Linked DNA regions of Homo sapiens: regions 1 and 2 are each linked to region 3. The links are contacts of gene promoters, found by promoter capture Hi-C in human tissues and cell types (Jung and others, 2019). All regions are on one chromosome and are shown on one strand. Each heading gives the region's core, a stretch centred on a gene start or on the middle of the fragment in contact. The rest is flanking DNA. Distances are from core to core; before and after follow the strand shown.

Region 1 (2,834 bases), core at 190-2,689, 140 kb after region 3:
TTCCCACTCTCCCATACTGTGGTACTAGTCTGGCTGTAGACTCTTAGAGAGGGAGCTTGTACCAGGGAATCTGTCCTCTTTTGTTACACCTGTGAGTTGGAGGCATTTCTTTTGCTTCTACTGTCTCTCAGTTTTTTGGATATTATTCTTATTTGTGTCCTGTTTTTGAGGATGTTTAGACTATTGCATTGTTTGTTCTTGCTGGTCCTAACTTACCTCCAGAGATGAGGCTGGTGTGTATAAGAGAATGCATTCAGCTCAACCTGGGGCATCAGGATTGGAGAATGTTTTTGTTATTGCTGATGGAGGGAAAAGATGATAAATTTGTTTATTTTGGACATGTGGGCTACTAAAAAATGGGTCTGATTATAAGATATACTTTGAGTGCCAGAGGATATTTCAGCAGAAATTGTTGATAAACAATTTCATGAGATAATTTGAAGTTGAGGTTTGAATGGGTAGGGAGCTGTAGGCATAGAGCTTCATTAATATATTAGTAACAATTGAAGTCATAGGAATGGAAAAACTTGCTCAGGTAGAGCGTATGGAGACAGTATTAAAGAACAGGAACAAAATCTTGGGAAACCTTAGACATAGAATTCTGAGAAACAAAGGAGACTGAGAAAGGGCAACCTTAAAGAGAGAGAATAAGATAACCAGGAAAGATTAATGGAACAAAGAAAAAAAGAGATTCAAGGCAGAAATTCTTGACAGTATCACATGTTAAATCAAGTGAATTATGAAATAGAGCTATTGGATTTGGTGATTGATGACGAGTATACATCCATAGACTAGTACAGAAAGCCAAAATGCAGTGGTTTGATGACTGTATTTGTTTCCTACAGCTGCCATCACAAAGTACCACAAACTAGGTGGCTTACAGCAACCAAAATTTGTTTTCACACAGTTCTGTAGACTGGAAGTCTGAAATTAGGCTGTCAGCAGGATCAGTTCAGCTCCGTCTAGAGGCTCTGAAGGAGGAAGCATCCTGTACTCTTCTGCCTCTGATGGTTGCTGGCAGTCCTTGCTGTTCCTTAGCTTGTAGATGTATCATTCTAATCTCTGCCTCTGTTGTAATGTGCCTCCCTGTGTGTCTGTCTGTGTCTTCACAATGCATTCTCCTGTCTCTGTGTGTCTGTGTCTAAATTTCCATTTTTCTTGTAAGAACAACAGTCATTGAATTAATTTGATTATATCTGCAGAGACCTTGTTTCCAAATAAGGTCATATTCACAGATACTTAGGGTTAGAAGTCTAACATATCTTTTAGGACATAGTTCAACCCACAGTGAGTTAAATGAAAGATGAAGAAATGGCATTTGGGACAAGCAACATCTACTCTTTTCAGGGTTTTCCGTTACCTCCTTTATTCTTGGTAGGCTTTCTGTTATTAAGCTGTATAACTCTTCTCATGTCCACACCAACATCCTAACTTTTCTTCATTGTTGAAAGCTCCAGTCCTCTTTCTCCACTTAGTAACTCTGAGCATTTGTGCTATCTTTGCATGTACTTTACTTTGTGTTTTCGTTCTTCCCAAGCCTGGCTGTGGAGTGGTATTCAGCCTTTCAGACTGCCATCATCTTTGTTTTCCTAGTAAAGAAGCATGTTGTACTTTTCGTTTTATAGGCTTTGCTCTGTGTCATTATACAGAATCAGAAGAAGGGATTAAAACAATTTAAAAACCAAATATAACTTATACAAAAATTGTGGAATTTTATAAGTTCTAATAATAATGGTTCTTGGTCTGTGGTTCCCAACTGCATATCAGATTTTTGCTTTCTGTTTTTTTTTTTTAATTTTATTATTTTTATACTTTAAGTTTTAGGGTACATGTGCACAATGTGCAGGTTTGTTACATATGTATACATGTGCCATGTTGGTGTGCTGCACCCATTAACTCGTCATTTACATTAGGTATATCTCCTAATGCTATCCCTCCCCCCCTCCCCCCACCCCACAACAGGCCCCAGTGTGTGATGTTCCCCTTCCTGTGTCCAAGTGTTCTCATTGTTCAATTCCCACCTGTGAGTGAGAACATGCGATGTTTGGTTTTTTGTCCTTGGTGATAGTTTGCTGAGAATGATGGTTTCCAGCTTCATCCATGTCCCTACAAAGGACATGAACTCATCATTTTTTATGGCTGTATAGTATTCCATGGTGTATATGTGCCACATTTTCTTAATCCAGTCTATCATTGTTGGACATTTGGGTTGGTTCCAGGTCTTTGCTATTGTGAATAGTGCCGCAATAAACATACGCATGCATGTGTCTTTATAGCAGCATGATTTATAATCCTTTGGGTCTATACCCAGTAATGGGATGGCTGAGTCAGATGGTATTTCTAGTTCTAGATCCCTGAGGAATCGCCACACTGTATTCCACAATGGTTGAACCAGTTTCCAGTCCCACCAACAGTGTAAAAGTGTTCCTATTTCTCCACATCCTCTCCAGCACCTGTTGTTTCCTGACTTTTTAATGATCGCCATTCTAACTGGTGTGAGATGGTATGTCATTGTGGTTTTGATTTGCATTTCTCTGATGGCCAGTGATGATGAGCATTTTTTCATGTGTCTGTTGGCTGCATAAATGTCTTCTTTTGAGAAGTGCCTGTTCATGTCCTTTGCCCACTTGTTGATGGGGTTGTTTTTTTTTTCTTGTAAATTTGTTTGAGTTCATTGTAGATTCTGGATATTAGCCCTTTGTCAGAGGAGTAGATTGCAAAAATTTTCTCCCATTCTGTAGGTTGCCTGTTGACTCTGATGGTAGTTTCTTTTGCTGTGCAGAAGCTCTTTAGTTTAATTAGATCCCATTTGTCAATTTTGGCTTTTGTTGCTA
Region 2 (2,888 bases), core at 316-2,815, 220 kb after region 3:
AAATGCTGGGATTACAGGCATGAGCCACCACGCCTGGCCTAAACAAGCATTTAAAATGAACATTTATGGAATGAATGTCATAATACTTACTGATTTTTTATTTCTAAGTTTTTTAAAAGTAAGGGTCTTGTAATTCTTCCTATAAAGCAAAGCAAAGTAATTAGCCTTATCCATGTAAAAGGAAAGCTCTGAATTAGAAAAATAAGAATATATTGGAGAAGACACAGTTTAAGTTATGGCCTTTTCTTTTTCAGAAGTATAATAATTCAGTCTCTCAAAAAGACTAGCTGAAAACAGTTGCCAAAGCTTGGAATCATACAGACAGAGGCATGGTTTACCTAAGAGTAACTAAGAACTTAATTGAATAAGAGAACAATAGTAAAGATATTCTTAACACAGGTAAAGTAACTGGCAACTGATTAGAAATGTCCAAGAGGAGAACAAGAAGCCAGAGTTTAAAGAGGGTTCTGATAACAGTTTAAGATTGAAGCAGAAATGTACCATTTGTACTTAAGATGAGATTTAGTAACATATTGGTTGAAGTTATGTGAGAGAAAGAAGTTAAGCACAACACCAAGGATTTTTTTGCCCCGCTGCCGCCCCGCCACCCCAATCACTCCTTCACCCTCCACTCAAGATAATCTTGTTAGTTTCCTATTTATCGTTCTAGAATATCTGTCTACAAGTACAAGCAAATATGAATATACTAATGCTTCTTTACCCGTTTTTATACAAAAGATGGTATATTATACATACCAAGCATTTCTTGATTTTGTATTTGGAGATCCTTCCATATCAGCTCTAAGAAAATTTTTCATTCTTTTTTATAGCTGCGTAATATTCCATTGAATGAAATATTTGTTCTGCAAGTATTTAGTCCTTTGTTGATGTTCATTTGGTTGTTTCCAGTCATTTGCTGTTAACCATGTTACAAATGAATAACCTTGTACATATGTCATTTTGCATGTGTGCAGGTATACCAAGGGGATATGCATTTATAATTTTGATAAATATTGCCAAATTGCCATCCATTTGTCTATGGCTTAAAATAACAAGGGCTTGTTTCTTGCTCGTATTCCACATCAAGGAGTTTTGCTTTAAAGTTGTCTTCTCTCTGCAATCCAGGCTGATGGAGCAACCAACACCTGGAACACTGCCAGTCACAATGGTAAAAGGAAGGGAAAGATAACAAGTGAAAGAAAATATAGCAAGTTGTACTTTGGCTCTTAAAACTTCTACCCAGAAGTTATTAATACATATGTTGCTTTTGCTCATATTTTCCTAGCTAAAGGAAATCATGAAACCAAACTTAACTTTTTAAAAATAATTTCAACTTCTATTAATATTTTAGATACAGAGGGCTGAGTGCAGTGGCTTATGCCTGTAATCCCAGCAGGAGTTTGAGACCAGCCTGGCCAACATGGTGAAACCCTCATCCTTACCAAAAATACAAAAATTAGCCGGGTGTGGTGGTGCATACCTGTAATCCCAGCTACTTGGGAGGCTGAGGCAGGAGAATTGCCTGAACCCGGGAAGCAGAGGTTGCAGTGGGCCAAGCTCATGCCACTGCACTCCAACCTAGGTGACAGAGTGAGACCCTATCTCAAAAAAAAAAAAAAAAAAAAAAAAAAAAAAAAAATTAGATACAGGGGATACCTGTGCAGGTTTGTTACATAGGTATTTTGCATGATGCTGAGATTTGGGGTATAGATCCTGTCACCCATGTAGTGAACATAGTACTCAGGTAGTTTTTCAATCCCTGCCATCTTCCTCCTTCCTCCCTCTAGTAGTCTACAGTGTCTATTGTTCCCATATTTATGAGTACCCAATGTTTAGATGCCACTCATTTTTTAAAACTTTTTTTTTTAATTTTATTTTTTTGAGATGGGGTCTCACTCTGTCACCCAGGCTGGAGTGCACGGGCATGATCACAGCTCACTGCAACCTTAACTCCTGGGCTCAAGCAACCCTTCACCTCAGCCTCCCAAGTAGCTGGGACCACAGGCATGTGCCACTTATGCCCAGCAAATTAAAAAATTCTTGTGTAGAGATAGGGTCTCATTATGTTTCCTAGGCTGGTCTTGAACTCCTGGCCTCAAGCAATCCTCTTGTCTCAGACTCCCAAAGTGCTGGGATTACAGGCATGATTATAGGCCTGGCCCCTAGCTCCCATTTATAAATGAGAATATGCAATATATGGTTTTCTGTTCCTGCATTAATTTGCTTAAAATTATGGCCTCCAACTGCATCCATGTTGTTGCAAAGGACATTTCACTGTTTTTTATGGCTGCATAGTATTCCATGATGCATATGTACCACATTTTCTTTATCCAGTCCACTGTTGATGGGTACCTAGGTTGATTTGATGTCTCTGCTATTGTGAATAATGCTGCGATGAATATATGAGGGTATGTGTTTTTTTGGTAGAACAATTTGTTTTCTTTTCATTATATACCCAGTAATGGGATTGCTGGGTTGAATGCTAGCTCTGTTTTAATTAAAGTGGAGCAGTATGACATACTTTTAAAGAGATAGAGAAGGATATTTGTCAATGGCTTTAATGCCTACCCCCAAAAGTATATGCTTCCCATAGGGAGTGTACCAATTTATACTCCCACTAGTAATGTCTTAAGAGTGGTTTTCTCTTTCCTAACCCATCAGTAATGTATCAAACTTTTGGATTTTCACTTATCTGCTAGGCTCTTTTTGCTATCCTGTTTAGGTGAAATGCTTCCAACATATAGAATTATTTATATTTCAAAAATTCTCAGAGACTTTATATTTGCTGTTTCCCATGCTTAGAATGCTCTTTCTCTTAATTCACTTAGCTAACTTTTCATTCACATCTTTTAAAACCCAGTCAGCTGTCAGTTTTGGGGTAAAGTTTC
Region 3 (3,186 bases), core at 168-2,667:
AAGACTTTGTCCAGAGAGAGTTTGCCGAGCTCTGATCTCATGGTTGTTTGAGCTAGCTGGGTGACGGCATACTCAGGGTCCTCCACACCGTAGCTTGCCTGAGATGGACACGGATAGTGTAAGAAGCTTGGGCACAAGATTTTAGTGAAGAGGGCAACTCAAAAGGCTGGATAAAGTAGGGGACAGGTACCTTGTAAGGGTCCATGATGCGCAGGTAAAGGACTCCATCGATTTGCAGAGTTACATTGTCTGTAGAACCAGGAGAGAAAACGGGGAAAGTCAGGCCTCTAGGTCCCAACCAGTTCTTTCTACTAAGCTCTGGATCTACAGCAACCACATCCTAATAGCCTCAGAGCACCCATGTCACCCTGAACCCCTCACCGAGAGTCACAGCCGACTGCTCAGGCACGTTGATGACAATTTCCTTGAGACTCTGCACATATCGGATCCGGTCTAACACAGGGATGAGGATGTTCAAACCCTGGAAAGAGGAGTCATGGGTCCTCAGAAGGCTGGGAACTATTGGGTTGGGACCTAAGCTAGTCCTGGAGTATGTAGGGAGTCAACACATGGAACATGCCCAGAAAAGCAGCAGCTCCTACCAAGAAATAAGTCCTCAGAAGGCTGAGGTGTCACTGGTAAGAAAACCCAAGAGAACAGGAATGCAAGACTAGGCCCCTGAATGGAGGGGAGAGTCATGAGAATCGGAGCCAGCAGAATAGCCATCTCTATGCAGACTGAGAGGTAGGGCTGAGAGTGGGCAGGGGAGATTCCCAAGAATGGGGCCTGTGAGATGCATAGGAAAAGGTGGTAACATGGGGATGATGGTCAGCAGCCTGGGCCCTGTCAGGTCTGGCCTACAGAGTCGGGAGCTAACAGTGCGGGCAGGCCCAAAGGAAGTCCTCCCGACATTGCATGTCGTGAGGGATTGGTCATCTGGCTGGCCCAGGGTGGGCAGAAGAGGTTTCTCACAGGCTCCAGGATCCGGTGGAATCGGCCCATTCGCTCCACCACCCAGGCCTCCTGCTGCGGCACGAACAGTACCACGGTGTTTCGGGGCAATCCAGAGGAGGCGCGGCGCGGAGCGCGGCCAGAAGCCAGTAGAGAGCCCTGAAGGAAAGAAGAGGGTGAGCAGAGATCCCATCTGGCCAGACACGCCGCCCCTCGGTCCTGAAGGCATCTCCATAAACCACGACCCTCAGGATCCTCGGAGAATCACATGGGGACCATGACCTCTGACCCCAGTCCTCTCCAAAAGTTGGAATTTCGCTCTTTTCCAGCGGAGAACCCAGGTAATCTCTGTCCTGACCCTCTGGAAAGGTTGCCTCGCTCTCACCCTCAGCAAAAGGGCCCCAGTGCCCCGCGCCGCGCGCGCCAGCATTTCCCACCGCCGCAGCGACCTCCGGAACCAACGAGACGAGCGGAGCGGTCGCTCCCAGAAGCCTACCCGAGCCTTTCCTCTTGCAGTTCCGCTCCCCCGGATGTACTTCCGGCAGCTCCCTCCCCCGCTTCAACACTCACCCAATCAGCGTTACTTGGTCGAACGGCGCGTCAAGTTGTTCCCTGGGAAACGCAGACCTTCTAGAGAAGGGCGAAGGCTGTGGTTGTTCTGGGTTTAGCTGTTCACGCCGAAGATCCCCGGCCTGATGGCCAAAATGGAGGCTATTTTTCGCGGGCATTATCACTCAGACACCACGCACTGAATTATTCGTCCTCACCCGAGACTCAGTTTGCCCACCAGAGCGTAGTATCGCCCCCATCTGTCACCATAGCGACTAGTGGATTGGAGCTGACTCGTTGCCATGGTTGCCATAGTGATATTCTCTGGTAGTCCCGCTGTGTTGTGCCCAGGACTCCCACTGGGGACTGACCCCAATCCCGTTGCCATGGAAACTGGGCCTAATATTGCCTGGCGATTGGGCCGAGATTTTCCCCTCCCCTCTTTCCTCAAAGACACTGCAGCTCCTTCCCTGTCTTCCCAAGCAAGGTTTGTTATGCCCGGTCTTAAATACAGTCCAGCAAACAGCCTCAACGTTCAACCTTGTCTGGAGCATGTCACCTTGCCCACATCCCTAATGCTCTGGTAGTCAAGAGACCTCCGTAGTCACCTCCATTTTACATATGAGGGCACTGAAGTTCTGAGGGGCTAAAGTCATTAATAGAACCAGTATTAGAATCCTGATCTACAATTCAGAGTTCAGCTTCTACGGCTGAACTTTACCCACCAACCCCTCCGAAAGGAGAAAAACCAGGCCCCAGGAATCAGCAGGGACTAGCCTAAGACCTCATGGGCCCAGGCCTGTTGCCTCTCTGGTAGAAAGGGCTGAGTCCCAGCTCCAGGAAGGCCCTCCATCCCCCTTCACACCCTCTCCCCAACAACAACAACAACAACAAAAGTAGAGCTTAGTTCAAGTTTCCAAACAAGAATTTATTCTTTCTTTTTTAATCTTTTTTTCTAAAAAAAAGTACCAGGTACAATTTTTTCCTGTTTTTGATTTGCTTTGTTTTTTCAAGTTTCAGCAAATGCTTGTTCCCCTCAGCCCAGCCCCAGGAGTTAGGACTGAGGCTGGGTCAGAGTCTGGAGTGGGGAATGGGGTAGTTTGGAACCACATGACTGAGTTTGAGGGGTGCCCCTCACCCCAGCTGAGGTAGGTGGGTCAGAGTCTGGCCAGGTGAGAGGAGGCACCCCAGTGCTTGGCCCTGACTCTGCCCCCTGGACACCTTCTTCAGTCAGGACCCCAAAACAAGGAGACACAGGTAGGAGGAGAGGGACAACTGGAGTCTGGAGCCCTAGGTGAGGGGTGGTTAACCCCTGTGTGTGTGCATACATGCACACTCACACACACATACCACACAAAGACAAGCTTGTGCACACACACATACGCATAACTTGGCTTTCAGAGATAGGTCAGAGGGTAGGGGAAGTGAAGGGACTGGGGAAGGACAGGGGAAGCTGAGTCTTTGGCTACTGACTCAGTCCCTCTGGAATAGCCCCTCTTCCCTCAGCTGAGGGAAAGCAGTTCTCCTCCTGCCCCCACCGCATAAGCCTCTTCAACTCCTGAGGTTGGAGCAATATCTGAGAGTGGGAAGCGGGGAGGAGTGATGCCAATTATCAGGTGTGGGAGGTTACCAAGGCAATCCAATTTGAATAAATTATAAATTAAAAATAAATAAAATAACAAGTGG

Evidence for each region. Contacts are between HindIII fragments. The study calls those that stand out against the background at their distance.
Region 1: a fragment that was not itself captured here is called in contact with the fragment with the promoter of STOML2 in region 3 in 1 of the 25 tissues and cell types used here (mesendoderm cells).
Region 2: a fragment that was not itself captured here is called in contact with the fragment with the promoter of STOML2 in region 3 in 1 of the 25 tissues and cell types used here (mesenchymal stem cells).

Annotation. Positions count from the first base shown.
Region 1 is chr9:35,243,557-35,246,390 of GRCh38, forward strand. All of the region lies in intron 6 of UNC13B (unc-13 homolog B), which reads left to right. Among named protein-coding and RNA genes, the nearest start is that of UNC13B, 83 kb to the left of the region's middle. The HindIII fragment of the contact is 7,349 bases long and covers 1-2,834 here.
Region 2 is chr9:35,317,798-35,320,685 of GRCh38, forward strand. All of the region lies in intron 11 of UNC13B (unc-13 homolog B), which reads left to right. Among named protein-coding and RNA genes, the nearest start is that of UNC13B, 160 kb to the left of the region's middle. The HindIII fragment of the contact is 3,105 bases long and covers 14-2,888 here.
Region 3 is chr9:35,101,714-35,104,899 of GRCh38, forward strand. It overlaps STOML2 (stomatin like 2), which reads right to left and starts at 1,418. Exons shown (of 10, transcript NM_013442.3): 1 at 1,337-1,418; 2 at 973-1,110; 3 at 382-481; 4 at 191-249; 5 at 1-98. The coding sequence starts at 1,381. It overlaps ATOSB (atos homolog B), which reads right to left. Exons shown (of 9, transcript NM_025182.4): 9 at 2,404-3,186. It also overlaps a transcript of PIGO-AS1 not described here. RefSeq lists enhancers at 796-1,055, 1,186-1,455, 1,466-1,515, 1,636-1,685. The HindIII fragment of the contact is 4,892 bases long and covers 1-1,495 here.